Linked DNA regions of Homo sapiens: all the other regions are linked to region 5. Evidence: promoter capture Hi-C in 16 types of primary human blood cells and fetal thymus (Javierre and others, 2016). All regions are on one chromosome and are shown on one strand. Each heading gives the region's core, a stretch centred on a gene start or on the middle of the fragment in contact. The rest is flanking DNA. Distances are from core to core; before and after follow the strand shown. Region 1 holds the start of MYBL1 (MYB proto-oncogene like 1). Region 2 overlaps ZFAND1 (zinc finger AN1-type containing 1). Region 3 holds the start of VCPIP1 (valosin containing protein interacting protein 1). Region 4 holds the start of SNX16 (sorting nexin 16). Region 5 holds the start of TMEM70 (transmembrane protein 70).

The links. The method cuts DNA at HindIII sites, captures the fragments that hold promoters and counts their contacts. A CHiCAGO score of 5 or more calls a contact.
Region 1: the fragment with the promoter of MYBL1 here is called in contact with the fragment with the promoter of TMEM70 in region 5 in 1 of 17 cell types (non-activated CD4 T cells); the score reaches 5.2 in non-activated CD4 T cells.
Region 2: a fragment that was not itself captured here is called in contact with the fragment with the promoter of TMEM70 in region 5 in 1 of 17 cell types (non-activated CD4 T cells); the score reaches 6.0 in non-activated CD4 T cells.
Region 3: a contact is called between the fragment with the promoter of VCPIP1 here and the fragment with the promoter of TMEM70 in region 5, in 1 of 17 cell types (M0 macrophages). The highest score is 6.2, in M0 macrophages.
Region 4: a contact is called between the fragment with the promoter of SNX16 here and the fragment with the promoter of TMEM70 in region 5, in 2 of 17 cell types (neutrophils and non-activated CD4 T cells). The highest score is 9.0, in neutrophils.

Annotation. Positions count from the first base shown.
Region 1 is chr8:66,611,968-66,614,667 of GRCh38, forward strand. It overlaps MYBL1 (MYB proto-oncogene like 1), which reads right to left and starts at 1,251. Exons shown (of 16, transcript NM_001080416.4): 1 at 852-1,251. The coding sequence starts at 871. LOC105375884 (a long non-coding RNA gene) reads left to right here and starts at 1,582. Exons shown (of 2, transcript XR_929015.3): 1 at 1,582-1,685; 2 at 2,078-2,700. RefSeq lists a silencer at 1,018-1,537 and enhancers at 1,768-1,907, 1,958-2,037, 2,048-2,097. The HindIII fragment of the contact is 2,770 bases long and covers 1-2,497 here.
Region 2 is chr8:81,717,854-81,720,593 of GRCh38, forward strand. ZFAND1 (zinc finger AN1-type containing 1) reads right to left here. Exons shown (of 8, transcript NM_024699.3): 2 at 329-371. Among named protein-coding and RNA genes, the nearest start is that of ZFAND1, 2.1 kb to the right of the region's middle. RefSeq lists an enhancer at 2,481-2,740. The HindIII fragment of the contact is 1,170 bases long and covers 887-2,056 here.
Region 3 is chr8:66,665,759-66,668,681 of GRCh38, forward strand. It overlaps VCPIP1 (valosin containing protein interacting protein 1), which reads right to left and starts at 1,473. Exons shown (of 3, transcript NM_025054.5): 1 at 1-1,473. The coding sequence starts at 1,200. C8orf44-SGK3 (C8orf44-SGK3 readthrough) reads left to right here and starts at 1,838. Exons shown (of 19, transcript NM_001204173.2): 1 at 1,838-1,943. It overlaps C8orf44 (chromosome 8 putative open reading frame 44), which reads left to right and starts at 1,838. Exons shown (of 2, transcript NR_161217.1): 1 at 1,838-1,943. RefSeq lists enhancers at 361-420, 671-1,190, 1,561-2,070. The HindIII fragment of the contact is 1,085 bases long and covers 758-1,842 here.
Region 4 is chr8:81,840,919-81,843,893 of GRCh38, forward strand. SNX16 (sorting nexin 16) reads right to left here and starts at 1,267. Exons shown (of 8, transcript NM_152836.3): 1 at 1,204-1,267. It overlaps LINC02235 (long intergenic non-protein coding RNA 2235), which reads left to right and starts at 1,701. Exons shown (of 8, transcript NR_170320.1): 1 at 1,701-1,753. RefSeq lists enhancers at 341-1,273, 1,201-1,250, 1,682-1,951 and a silencer at 821-870. The HindIII fragment of the contact is 7,243 bases long and covers 1-2,975 here.
Region 5 is chr8:73,974,925-73,977,624 of GRCh38, forward strand. TMEM70 (transmembrane protein 70) reads left to right here and starts at 1,271. Exons shown (of 3, transcript NM_017866.6): 1 at 1,271-1,567. The coding sequence starts at 1,358. RefSeq lists silencers at 1,060-1,139, 1,189-1,404, 1,570-1,619. The HindIII fragment of the contact is 7,182 bases long and covers 1-1,855 here.

The sequences.
Region 1 (2,700 bases), core at 1-2,500, 7.4 Mb before region 5:
TTTGTTATCTAAGCAATTACTCCACATAATTTATGAGTAGCTGCTGTAATGGCATGTAAACGAAAATTAGATGCATAAATTCATCCTAGCACATTTTCCAGGCAAAGGTGGAAAAAAGTGCCTTACCTCTGTGGAACACTTAGGTACGGTCAGAGCCAAACACAGACACTCAAAATATTAAGTGAATCAAACACATTGTTTTATTTCAAGATCAAGCTACTAGTTGTTACTACTAGTTGTTACTATGTGACATGGTCCCAAGAGAGGATATTAAAATATACATATATACATAAAGCTGAGCATATGGGTATAGGAATTACAGAAAACATCAAAAAAGTCCTCTCAGCTATTCCCCAGAGGATTTTCCACAACGTTTCAAGATAGCCAAGTTGGCAGAGGGGTGGCCGCCCAGGTTCACCGCGGAGTTCCTATTTTGACTGTACCGTCATTCAGAAAAGAGTCGCCCGAACACCATTTTCAAGTCCTCCCGGCAGGACACAGTCAGTTTTCTCTGCGTAGCGGACTCCCTAAAAGCGCTCGACTTACCTGGCAAGAAACCTGCCTCGAAGAAGTGGCAGCATGAGGTCAGAAATCTGGACGCGCATTACGGGGAGAGTCACCGAGAAACCTGGGCATCTCTTACGTCCCGCGCCTCAAACACCCTGGTCCCCAACTCTCCACACGTCGCAGCTGCCCTCCGGTCATCGAGGCCAAGCGGCCGCGGGGACGCGGGAAGAAAAACCTCTGCCCTCGCCAGGGAGGGCCTTATGGCGGGAGGGGGCAGCGGGATAGGAAAGAGAATCTGAGCCGAGACGGCGCCGACAGGCCTGGGCGAAAGGGGTGCCACCCACCTGCGCGACCTCTTCGCCATCCTTCAAGTACCGCATAGGAGCAGGCTGGGCGGGGACGCGGGTCAGCCTCCTCCAGCCTCCGGCGAATGCTCCTTCTCCCCGATCCTCTAGCCGCTTCCCTCGCTCCCTCTGGAGGCGGCCGAGTGCGGAACGCACGTCCTCGACAGGGCAGGACGGAGGGACAGCGGGGGCGGACCGCGACCCGACCCCGACCCCGGCCCGCAGCGCCGCTCTTAGCCCCGGCCCGGCCCGGCCAGGGATACCCCCAACATGTCAGGAGGCGCGATCCCGCCCTCCGCCGGCTTCTCCCGCCGCTTGTCAGCCTCCCTGCCCTGGCCCCAGCCCGGCTCCGCCACAGGCGCCCGACCCCTGCCCTCTCCCCCGCAGCTAGCAGTTCTGCAGGGCTCGCAGTCTCCTGCAGGGTTTTGTCCGCACCGCCGAATCTCGCGCCCAGCCTCCCTCAAGAGCCGCCGTTTGAATCTGCGCACGCGGCCCTGAACCTCATTGGCTGTGGGGGCCGCACGCGAAGAAGCGAGGGCGGGGAGGGGAGAGCGCGCGCGGCTGAGGGCGGGGCTGGGGAGCTGGAAGCTGGGACTGGAACTCGCGGGAGTCGGGGAAGGAGCCGGGAGCCAGGGGGTGGGGCCGCGGGTGGGGCCGTAGGTGGCGCATGCGAGCCGAGCTGTCATAGGACCCGGAACGCGCCGAGAGGCGCACCGCGCGGGGCCTGCTGGGAGAGCGAGTTCCTGCGCTCGCCGAGGAGTGGGTCCGGAAGCGGCGCCGGAGCGGGTCCGGAAGCGGGCGGTGGAGAAGTCCAGTTGCCCCAAAATTCTTAGGGTGAGCGAACCGAGTTTCTGGCGGGGTGGGTGGTCCCGCGGCCCACCAAGGGAACGTCTCCGCAGCCTCGCCTCGGCGACAGCTCCTGGCTCCTTAGGTGTCTTCCGCCTCACTAGTTAGGATGCGCGGTCTTCAGACTTGAGACAAATCTAACCATAAATTTGCGCGGCCGTTATTTTTTAAGCAAAAATGTGAGCTATTTTTACCCAGACATCATAGTTACGAGAGTGACGAAGACTCTGGCAGGAAACCAAATATCACCTGTTTTCCTCAAAAAGCAGCAGAAGAGTGACAAGTGAAAAAAGTTCCTAGCGGGAGACGTGCTTGGAACCGGAGATAATCTGTGTCTACCGCTGGTCTTCAAGGTGCTTAATTTCGTGCCCGCTCTACAGGAAATAACGTGCGCGGCGGAGGAGCCCTGTCCTGGAGAATAACGCGTGAAGAAGACAGTGGACTGGGCATTTCGTCCAGATGAATGAGCATGGTAGTTAAGTGTAGAAGGTGACCTTCTTCCCTCTGGAGAGACCAGGGAGGGGGGAACCACCGGAGGAGTTTCTAGCGGTTGCAGCTACTTGAGGTTCCAGTCTAATAACTACGAACTGTTCATTTCAAGTAGCATTAAAGTAGATTTGCTACAGTAACAATTACACTTGGCTAAGGAAAATTTGCAAGGCAACATGGTCTATTGCATAGAGCACTGAGCCACATGTTAACACTGTAACAAACACTTGCTATTTTGAAATTTTACGCTTCATCTTTTGCAAATCAGATGCAGGTGCAGAGTGAATTAAGAGGAGCTGAATTAAGAGAGAAGCTTGCATGCACTGCTGTCAAAACCTAAACACACTGGCTTTTTTTTTTTTAACAGTTCCTTTTTTCAAGGTATAGATTCTGGGAAGGTAAGGGAAGATAAAACAGCTTTTCTTTTTCTCTCCTGTTTTTTTTTTTGTTGTTTTTTTTTTGAGACTAGGTCTCACTCTATTCCCCATGCTGGAGTGCAGTGGCACAATCATAG
Region 2 (2,740 bases), core at 222-2,721, 7.7 Mb after region 5:
GGCTCTTTTCATTTTATTAATTAAAATAAAGAGCAATAATTATAACTGGATCTTTACCATATTCTTTATATTGTGAATATTATTTTCTCCTTGTAATTAAAAGACAAAAATATAACTTTTATATAAAATTCACATACATAACCCCACTTTTGGAAGTTTAAAAATCAGTCATATATATGGAGAAGTAATCAGAGTCTATAACTATACTGAATATCAATAATCAATGGCTAAAGTAACAATTATTTTAAATCATTCTACTTTTCAGAAATAACCTCATATTAATAAACACTAAAATTACTCCCAAATCCTGCATAAAAACTTAACTTACCAAAATATTCCTGAACAATCATCACACACAAATGGAAGAAAATCTAAAATTGAGAGAAAATGTATATACTGGTCAGTATCTGATTTTGATTTAGTTTTCTTAAGCAAGAAGACAACCTCTATGGAAAAACTTCCCATTTTGACTAATATCCTAGTGTAGCAAGCACTATGTAACCACTCTAACAAAATTAATCACAACTTCAATAACTGACAGAAAGTAATTGGATTAACATAAGGTATTAATAGATGTTACTTGTAACTTTACTAAGTCAGACAAAAATAAGTTCTAGTGGTTTTCTTTTTCTTTTTTGTTTTGTTTCCCAGATTTACTAGGTGTTGTTTTTGATGACTGTATACTGCAAAAATTCCGCATTTGGAGTGAAAAACCTGGGATTCAATTCTGATTCCACTGCTTACTAATCTAACAGTGCTAGGCAAGTTACTTAACAGTAAAACTTTGGATATATATATTTTTATATATATCCAATAAATATATATATTTATATCTGTGTACTAATATATATGTGTGTGAACAACATATATATATATATATCGCCAAAGCTTGACTATATTCAAATATATTTATATTTATATATACACCTATAAGATTTATGGTATTTCAAATATATATAATTTGATGTAATATATAGTACAGTTAGTATAAAGTATATGTGTGTGTGTTTCTATATATGTATGTAAATAAACATATACAAAACCAAAGCTCTTTTATTGGGTAAGAAAAATAGAAAGATATAGACAGGTAGATACAGAGACAGATATAAAGATACAAGCACATCCTTTCTGTGTATATATGTATATGTGTGTATGCATGTGTATCTATATCTGTATCTATGCTGTATGCCACACCGACCTCACAGTGTACTTACAGAAACCAAATGAGATATATATGAAAGATCAGAATAGTAATACAGTAACTATAATTAATAAGAATAATACAACAATTAACTTCTTTTGAGTATACTCAACTCAGAACAGTACTGCAAGGGGCCAGGCACAGTGGCTTAAGCCTGTAATCCCAGCACTTTGGGAGGCCGAGGGGGGCGGATCACCTGAGGTCAAGAGTTTGAAAACAGCCTGGCCAACATGGCGAAACCCCATCTCTACTGAAAACACACACACACACACACACACACACACACACACACACACACACAAATTAGCTGGGCGTGGTGGTTCATGCCTGTAATTCCAGCTACTCAAGAGGCTGAGGCAGGAGAATCGCTTGAATTCAGGAGGCAGAGGTTGCAGAGGGCCGAGATCGCGCCACTGCACTCCATCCTGGGTGACAGAGCCAGACTCCATCTCAAAACAAAACAAACAAACAAACAAAAAAGGACAATACTGCAGTGACTGGGTGGAGATGCTTAATATTTTGCGACTTTTAATAATCAAGTATTAGATGCAAACCAGAAGGACCCAGGGGAAAGAGTTAAGTCAAGACAACTTCCCAGCACCTGATACCATCCTTCAATCCCTCCAGAAGGTAGATAAAATTTAGGATATACACTTGACGTAGTCTAAATCTTAACTGCTTTCCACTAGTCCCAAACAGATAGGCCTGGCCTCATCTCAGTTATTGACACTAAAGACATATATAGCTGGAAAGGAAAATGAACTATGTCATGAATGGCATATAATGTGTATTGGACTCACTAGCGAAGGATCAGGCATAGACACACATAATTCACAGTCAAAACCCAAATGGCTAAGCTTCCACATGAAAAAAGTCACACTGGCTTGTTATTACAGCCAGTGGTGAAAGATAGATAGATAGATGGCTATAAGTAACAAGAACCTAGAAGGGATTGTGTCACCTGTCCTATCACGCATTCCCACAGTAGAAATCACTAATCAATTATGGAACTCCACTGAAACTGGGCTAAATCTCAAGAGTCTTTGACACGGTAATTCAGGCACTTGATACCAATGACTGAAGTTCCAAGGGGAGATTAAACCTGTTTGCTACCTTATGTAGTGTGTGAAACCTAGTAACAACGACTGAGCAGTCTGTGTGGTTCTAATGCTTCAAAAACTTGCCTTTTCAAGGTGTATGGCATCCTGAAGCCAATGCCACATCACCTTGGACTAGGTATATCCCAAGGTCTCTCAGTGCAATGGGGAGAGCCCATTGCCATATTATTAACTAATTCTCTCTAAAATGCAGCTTACTAGTTGGAAAGGTCTTCCGTGTAAAAGACTGTAGTTTACACCCTTATGTGGTCCAAGCACCAAAATCAATAATCTGTAAATGTTTGTTCAAACAATAATAATGAGAATCAGGGAATGACAGAGCTGGGAGAGCATGATGACCATTTGGTGGAATAATCTGAGGATCAGGATGCCTTTGAGAATTTGATAAAAGCTAAGGAAGGGCCTTCTTCCGGACACACAT
Region 3 (2,923 bases), core at 223-2,722, 7.3 Mb before region 5:
TCCAATAACACAACCACCATCCTCTTCAAGTTTTATGTACTTTTTAATAAGGTCCTGAGGCACACCCCATGCTTTAGGAAGCAAATTCATAGGCAGTTTGGGCAAAGCAGCCCCTTTTATGCCTACCAAGGGGATATAATGGTTTCTACCGGAGCTGCTCCATGCAATACAGATTGGTTTGTTCAAATGACCATCTTTCCCAGTGCACTTCTCTGCAGGGATGAGCCCAGGTAGAAAGGTGGCTGAATAATCACCAGAGCTTCTCATGCCACTGAGGGAATCTAACAGAATAATAGGACGATGTAGCACATTGGCAAGACCAAATATGTGGATATTCCTCAGGCCCAAGGGAACACCCTCAGGTGGTACAAACAGAGGGTCACACTCATTGATAATGTCCTCCCACTCAGCAGCATCAATGAAGTCATGGAACAGAGCTTGATATCGGGCCAGGTGCTGCTGAAAGTGCTGTTTAAGATTCTCTCTTAAGGCATGCCAGAAGAGCTCTCGGCCTACTAGAGCCCGAGACACAGCATGCACCAAGCAGTGTCCATCCCCGTCCACATGCACTGGAATGAGACATTCCTGGCTTTTATTGGCCCGCTTAATGTCCTCCAGAGTGTCATGCAAATACAGGAGGCTTCCGGAGCGGTCCTTGCCATAGCCCACAGTGTTAACATGCTCTGGTTCTATGAGGAAGGCGCGGTCACCCAGTAAGGCGCAATCGAACAGTTCGCCCTGGTTCATGTCCCGGAGAAGCTTGGCCCGGCCTGTCTGTTTGTCCATTCCATAGCGAGCTAATATGGGCGACAACAATTTGCAGTGATAGTTGGAAAGGCCCATCACCTTTACCAGTTCCGTGTTCTTCTTGGGTGCCCCCGTAACCCCGAGCAGCGCGTTCCGCAGCAGGTTGTGTAGCACTACGTCCGGGTCGGTCACCTCCTCAACCCCCAGCAGCTGTTGCTGCTCGTGCCGCTGGCCGCACTCGGTACACTCGATGCTGACAGAACCGGAGGCCGGGAAAAATAGACGCGCCTGACACTTCGGATCCGGGCAGCTCCCGGAAAGGATTCTCCGGTCTCTCCGCTTCAAAAGCCCCCCCGAAGCAGCCGCCGACGCCAAGGACGACGGAGTCTGTGGAGCCTCAGGGGGAGGAGGTGGCGGCGGCAACGGAGGCGGCGGCGGCGGCGGCTGAGACATAGCTCCTGGCTCTCGTGTCTCGCTCCGCGTCCCAGGCGACCCTCAAAAGCTCATAGCCCAGACCCCCACCAACCCGACTCGGTCCAGTCCAGGCCCAGGGCGAAGCACTTTCCTTTCCCTACCAGCTCTTCCTCCTCCTAAGCGAAGGCGGAAGCGCCGGACGTTGTTTCTCTTCTTACTTCTCCACTGCCGTAGCCGTTGCCCCGAACGTAACGGCCACCACCCCACCCCGCACTCACACTCACTCACTCTCGCTCTCTCTCCCTCAGACACAGACATACACGCCCTCATTGAGTGTGCGCAGGCGCAGCTTCCGCTCTGCCCTCTGGGAATTAGAGTCTTCCAGCCTCTGTGCTGGCCATCAAGCCCTAGGATCTTGAGTCCAGAAGGAACTACAAGTACCGTGAGGCCAAGCGGTTCAGCGCTAGAGGAGAGGAGGAAGAGGACGGCAACAGGAAAAGGGGCGAAAGAAAGATGGTGACTCGCGTTGCCTGCCGGTAGTTGTAGTTTTACTGGGCTCTCCTTCGTCGTCTTCCCCACTCTGCAGCCCAAGGCAAAGAGTCTGAGAGACCACATTTCCTAGGATGCCGTGCGGTGCGTCTAGCTGCACTTCCTCCTTAGGCGGAGGGGAGGATTCAGGGAAGCTTGGTTAAAAACAGTTATGGCAGTGGGAGTCGAAGCGAGGGTCTGAAGTTCACGACTACTAGAAGGGGAGGGGAGTGGAAAGGCTCTCAGTGAAAAAGGTACAGTAAATAAATGTCCAGGGATATTGGGGGCTGGGAAGTTGAATAAATGGTCTAATCTAGGCTGGAGGCCATAAGGGGGAAAACAGTTGATTCTCGGAAGCTCTGCCTTCTCCCCCTCTCTAGTGCGAATCACTGAGGCGCCATTTGATTTCTCGTTTCCTGCATGTTTTGGCAGTTTACAGTGCAAATAACGGTACCTTGGATGTCTGTAGAGTTTTGTGTGCATATACAAATTCTCTTAACTAGGTTTAATTTCATTTGCTCTTTACCACCCTACTCCCCAGAGAATAATAAGAGCCATCATGTGTTAAGTTCTTAATATGTGTCTGGACAGCATTTGCATAACACGATATCATTTGATCTTAAAAAATAACCTTCTTAGGAAACAGGCCCAGAAAGGAAATGACTTGCTAAAGTTCACGCAGCTGATAAGTGAGTGGATAGACATTCAGATCTCAACCTGTCTTCTTTTTACAGATCAGGACATAGGCAGGAAAGGTTAGGCCTGTATTACATAGAATAGTAACTAGCATTTGCTTACTATTGCCTTATAGTTTACATATTTAATAATATGTTCACATGTATCATCTCATCCTCACACCAGTCCTGTAATACCTTTACCAGGTGGTGTTGACTTCATTTACAATCAGGGAAACTGAGACTAAAAGGAATTAAGTGACTTGCCCAAGGTCAAGTCACCAGTTATGCTGGATCCCAATCTCAAACCTTGAGAGTGATTTTTACGCTGCTGCTTACCAAAAAATCCCGGCCGGGCGCGGTGGCTCACGCCTGTAGTCCCAGCACTTTGGGACGCTGAGGCGGATGCATCACGAAGTCAGGAGATCGAGACCATCCTGGCTAACATGGTGAAACCCCGTCTCTACTAAAAATACAAAAAAATTAGCCGGGCGTAGTGGCGGGCGCCTGTAGTCCCAGCTACTTGGGAGGCCGAGGCAGGAGAATGGCGTGAACCCGGG
Region 4 (2,975 bases), core at 17-2,516, 7.9 Mb after region 5:
AACAACTACAGACCAACAAAATGACAAGACTACACACAACAATAACTGCCCAACTTTTCATACGAAACTCTACTGGTGGGAAAGGTAAGAAATGAGTCACCTGGACTTGGAAAGATGCTGAAATAAGATTTTTAACTCTGGGCTGGGCGCTGTGGCTCACGCCTGTAATCCCAGCACTTTGGGAGGATGAAGCGGGTGGATCGCCTGAGGTCAGGAGTTCGAGGCTAGCCTGGCCAACATGGTGAAACCCCGTCTCTACTAAAAATACAAAAATTAGCCGGGCATGGTGGCGCAGGCCTATAATCCCAGCTACTTGGGAGGCTGAGGCAGGAGAATCGCTTGAACCCGGGAGGCGGAGGTTGCAGTTTGCCGAGATCGTGCCATTGCACTCCAGCCTGGGCTACAAGAGGAAAACTCCGTCTCAAAAAAAAAAAAAAAAAAGATTTTTAACTCAAGTGGCTCTCGGCAACATTTCCCCATTATCAAAGATTCATGAAACTTTAGCTGCTGATTCACCGCTCCTCGGTTCCGCCTGACGGCCTCCCCAAAAACAAGTAAGTCTGAAATCTCAACCTTCTCAAGGTCCGAGGGATCTACCTGGCCTTTGCCACTCTACTACCTGAGGCCGCCTGGCTGGGGGGAGGTCGCATATCAATACATATCAACACAACCACTGACGTCCGAAGATGTGAGCGCTACCCAAGCGTTAAAAAAACAAAACAAGCAAACAAACAAACAAAAAAACGTGCTGTGCTCATTAGGAGCGTCTTCGCCTCTACCCTGATGCGGAGTTGCTCCCAGGACGCTCAGTTCATTCTCACTCTGGAAAACCTCAGGTGAGGTGGCCCGACTCTGAGCAACCCCGTGGGCGGGAGGAAAGAGGCAAATACCAGGCACAGTTCGACCCTCGGAAGGTAAGGCCGGGGTCTGCGCCGGTCACGGGTCTTCCGCACTGCAGGCGGCGAGACCCGCAGCTCCCTGGGATCACAGACTCTCCCGCCTCCGCTGACCGGTGCGCGCCCAGCGCCTCCCAGACGCACAGTGGGGTCGGCGGTGGCCTGAAGGTGGCTGGGCTTCCTGCGGCGCCTCTCCACTCTCCCGCGGAGCCCCTTGCCGCCCGCCAGACATCAAGGTTGCAGGTGTCACCCGTACGAGAACCCGGGACAGCGACCGCCTGTCCTGAGGTAATGACCCAGTCTTTACCTCAGCCCCCTCGGCGATCCCGAACGAGCGCGCTTCCCGGTGACGGTTAAACCGGACTCTCCTTAACCGCAGCTTTTCGCCTCCTCCCTCAGCAGCGAGAAGCCTCACGTGACACCCCCGCCCCAAAAGCAGCTGCTCCCCGCCTCAGCCAGTCTCTGCCCGGGCCCAAGATCCCTGCTGTGTGGAAGGAGGGGCCGAACTGGGCGGGGGGGGGGGGGGGGGGAGAGAGAGAGAGAGAGAGGGAGGGAGGGAGGGAGGGAGGGAGAGAGAGAGAGAGAGAGAGAGAGAGAGAGAGAGAGAGACAGAGACAGAGAGAAAGAGAGAGAGAGAGGGCAAGAGCGAGAGACAGAGAGAGAGAGAGAGAGAGAGAGAGAGAGAGAGAGAGAGAGAGAGAGAGAGAGAGAAAGAGAAAGAAAACGAGCGAGGGAGAGAGCGAGAGCGAGAGAGAGAGAGAGAGAGCGTCACACACACATCTCTGCCGGAAGTGATGTCACGGCATGGGCGCCCGCCCACCGGAGGAGCGACTGGAGTTGATCGGCTGGGCGCTCAGGTAGCGAAGATAAATGTAATCTTGTGGCAGGAAATCGACATTCTCTGCACTATCTTTAGTTTTCCAACTGAACTTCTGAGAAATGGAGGCTACAATACCTAGTTTGCCAAACAGGAGAAGACTACAATTCCCAGAAGGAACTGCGACCAACATTGGTCCGTGCTCATACTTTGCATCATGGGACTTGTAGTCATCACCAGCTTGCGCTGATTCTAACAGGTTATAGATTGTTTTCTAGAATTAGCAGCGCTTTAAGGGATGACAATCGATTAGAAGAGTAGGAAGATAGAACACTGCTTAGTAGCTGATCCGTTCTACATAATTCAGAAGTTCTCATTGGCAGAGAACCCCTGAAATTCTGTAGTGTCTTTTTACTATCCGGTGAGCAATTTGATCCCGATGATGGAATATTAGCCTTGTTAGACATGCGCTTCTGAAGACCTGTGCAGTAGGGAAAGCCGAGTTTTTTGATAGGCAAATCCCAAGATTCAGACCGGTCTACAGGTCTGTTCATCATTAGAATCAGATAATGTGGTTGAAAAATCATTCCACGATTTCTAAGGCTTTTGTATAGTCCCAATGTTACCCATGGAGGGTCTTGACTACAAGTCATCCAGGTTCTTGGTTTTTTTAACAAAGAATTGGACAAAACGCACAAAGAAAGCAAGGAAAGAATGAAGCAAGGAAAGCAGAGATTGAAATGACTGTACACTCCACAGAGTGGGAATGGCCTCCAGCCAGTGGCTCAAGAGCCCTGGTTACAGGATTTTCTGGAGTTTAAATATCCGCTAGAGATTTCCCATTGGTTACTTGGTTTACACCCTCTGTAAATTAAGGAGTAGCCTGCAACCAATCAGAGGCTAAAGTTAAGTTACAAAGTTGTACTCCTATGGAAATGAAGACTAGGCCCAGATACCAAGGGCCTAGAAGGTTGGGCAGGGGGTTGCAAAGGGAATAGCCTCTGGTCTTTTTGTTACTTGGGCTTGGAAAGTTGGAGTTTTCCTTTTGATTTAGTTCTAGGAAGTCAGCGTGAATGGGCCTTAGGTTCCCTGCCTCCGGACCCTATTCTACTGCCCGACTAAGAGTGAGAAAAGGTGATAGTGGTCATTTTGAAATGAAGGTTGGAAAATAGTCTGGTTTGTGACATGATGATGGTTTTGGTTTAAGAGATTCTGCCCTTTTAGTGTGAATGAAATAAAAATAGAATTCTGTAGAAACAATG
Region 5 (2,700 bases), core at 21-2,520:
GCCTCCACGTAGTATTGGAATTGCAGGCGTGAGCTCCCGCCCCTGGCCACACATTATTTTAGACTATGAATTTGTTCCTCTCCGGTGCAAATAACATGTCAAATCAAAAACATGTATAGTTCTGCAGTGGTAAACAAAAGTGTGTTTCTATTACTAAGATGCTCATCCTTCAAGACTGAGCTAAATGTGAAGCCAGTCTGAAGACATTCTGAGGCAAAATTAATCATGTTCTTCTTTGTACTTCTGTGGCATTTGTTTGTTCTTTTTTTTGAGACACGGTGTCACTTTGTGGTCCAGGCTGGAGTGCAGTAGTGTGGTCTTGGCTCACTGAAGCCTCGACTTTGGGCTCAAGCAATCCTACCATGTCAGCCTCCTGGGTAGCTGGGACCACAGGCACACACTTACCATGTGTGGCTTATTTTTGTTTTAGGTTTTTTTTTTTTTTTTTTTTTTGTAGAGACGGGGTCTCCCTGTATTGCTCAGGCTGGTCTCAAACTCCTGGCCTCAAGAGATCTTCCTGCCTAAACCTCCCAAAGCGCTGGGATTACAGGTGTAAGCCACCACGGCCAGCCACATTTTGTATATTGCGGTGTCTCAATTGTATTACATTATATTCTAGCCAATTTTCAGGTATTTTCCTCCACTGTTTAAGCACTGTGGATTCCCAGTTTAATCTAGTATTTTGTATCCTCTGCTCCTAGCTCAGTCCTGGCAATAGATTCAGTACCTCTTTAACAAGTAATGAATCAATGTGTATATGGATGTGAATGATTTCCGAAGACAAATCTGGTAACACCTATCAATATTACATGAACAATTCCATTTATTTTCCTCCAACCCGATGATTCAATTAAGTTATCACTCATTTTTGTTCAAATCGTATATTCTTTCTTCTGTGCCAACAGGCTAGAATCATTTTCCGCAAAGGAAACAGTTTTTAGTGATGTCGTCCACGAGAAAAAAAAATATTTAACCCTGGCTTCTGGGCATTGTCATTCTCGTACAGCCCTCTGCCCCTCCACACTGTTATAAAGAAGGTAAAATTCTAGGAAGGAGGAGCCGCTGAGCCAAGGACAGAGCGGCGGGCTCCCAGCTCAGCTGGCGGATAACGCGCGCGGCCGGGAAGGCGGCAGGCGGGCGGCAGGCGGGCGGCAGGCGGGCGGCAGGCGGGCGGCAGGCGGGCGGCAGGCGGGCGGCAGGCGGGCGGCAGATTCTGCGCACGCGCAGGCAGCCCAGCTGCCAGTCAGGCGTCCCGGGCTGGGCATGCGCCACTTGTGCGGCAGTCGGGTGGGAAGCCGTGTCTCGCAGTCGTGGACTCGTGCAGCTGGGGCGTCCGCAGCCGCTCGTCACCCGCGTGATGCTGTTTCTGGCGTTGGGCAGCCCGTGGGCGGTCGAACTGCCTCTCTGCGGAAGGAGGACTGCATTGTGTGCGGCCGCCGCGCTCCGAGGTCCCCGGGCCTCTGTCTCCCGGGCGTCCTCCAGCAGCGGGCCTTCGGGGCCGGTAGCCGGCTGGAGTACGGGGCCTTCGGGAGCCGCGCGCCTTCTCCGGCGTCCGGGTCGAGCGCAGGTAGGGCGTCCGAGGTCTGGTGTCCCAAGTGAGGCGGGGAGGGCGGGCGTCGTGTCGGGCCTGGGGAGCCCCAGCGGCTCTTCGCGACCTCTCCCAGGTGTCCGTGGCTGGAGCGCGGGAGGAGCCCCCTCTGCGGGGCTTGCAGAAGTAGCAGGCCGAGGGCCCCGGGGTCCTCAGCCTCCGCGAGTCCAGGAGAACGGCTGGAAAGTGCTTACTTTTATGGTAGTTCCAAATCCAGAGGGTTTGTGGTGACAACTATATGTAGTTCCTTTTCTGCCCTTGAGTAGAAGCTTAGAAGTGTTAATTTGCAAAAAATTGGATGCAGCACCTGGAAATAGAACCGAAAGAGCCAGGTTAACCTGACTTTGAGCTTGTTCTACTTTTATGAGGTGGCTGTACTTTTAAGAATTACTTTGGTCCCTGGGAAAAGGGGGATGCAGATGTTAATTCTTTTATTTTGATCTGAATAAATTGTCTTCTAATTCTACTCTGTAAAATATCAGGATTGGCAAACCTGGTTAAAACTTGGAAGAAATGCTTAAAATGGAAATTGGAATCTAATTACATTTCAGCATTGAGGAATTAGGCATGCCTTTTACATTTTGAAGTGTATACACTGTGAAACTCATTTTCAGATGTATGGGGAACGCTTCTGTTCCCTTGAAATTTGATGTAGGATTTCAAGTAAATTTTATTTCTTTTTTTTTGGAGGTGAAGTCTCGCTCTGTCACCCTGGTTGGAGTGCAGTGACGTGATCTTGGCTCACTGCAACCTCCGCCTTCCGGGTTCAAGCGATTCTCCTGCCTCAGCCTCCCCAGTAGTTGGGATTACAGGCGCGCTCCACCACACCCCGGCTGATTTTTTTTTTGTATTTTTAGTAGAGACGGGGTTTCACCGTGTTGGCCAGGCTCGTCTTAAACTCCTGACCTCAAATCATCCTCCTGCCTCGGCCTGTCAAAGGGTTGGGATTACAGGCGTGAGCCGCTGTGCCCAGCCAAATTTTATTTCTTGTCAAGAAATAAGAGGACCAGGGGATACACGGTATTTACAAGGTCTTTAGAGAAAGATTTGATCTCTTTAATACTATCATATAAATATTTTAGCAGTATTTGTAAAAGGCCTGGACTTTAAAT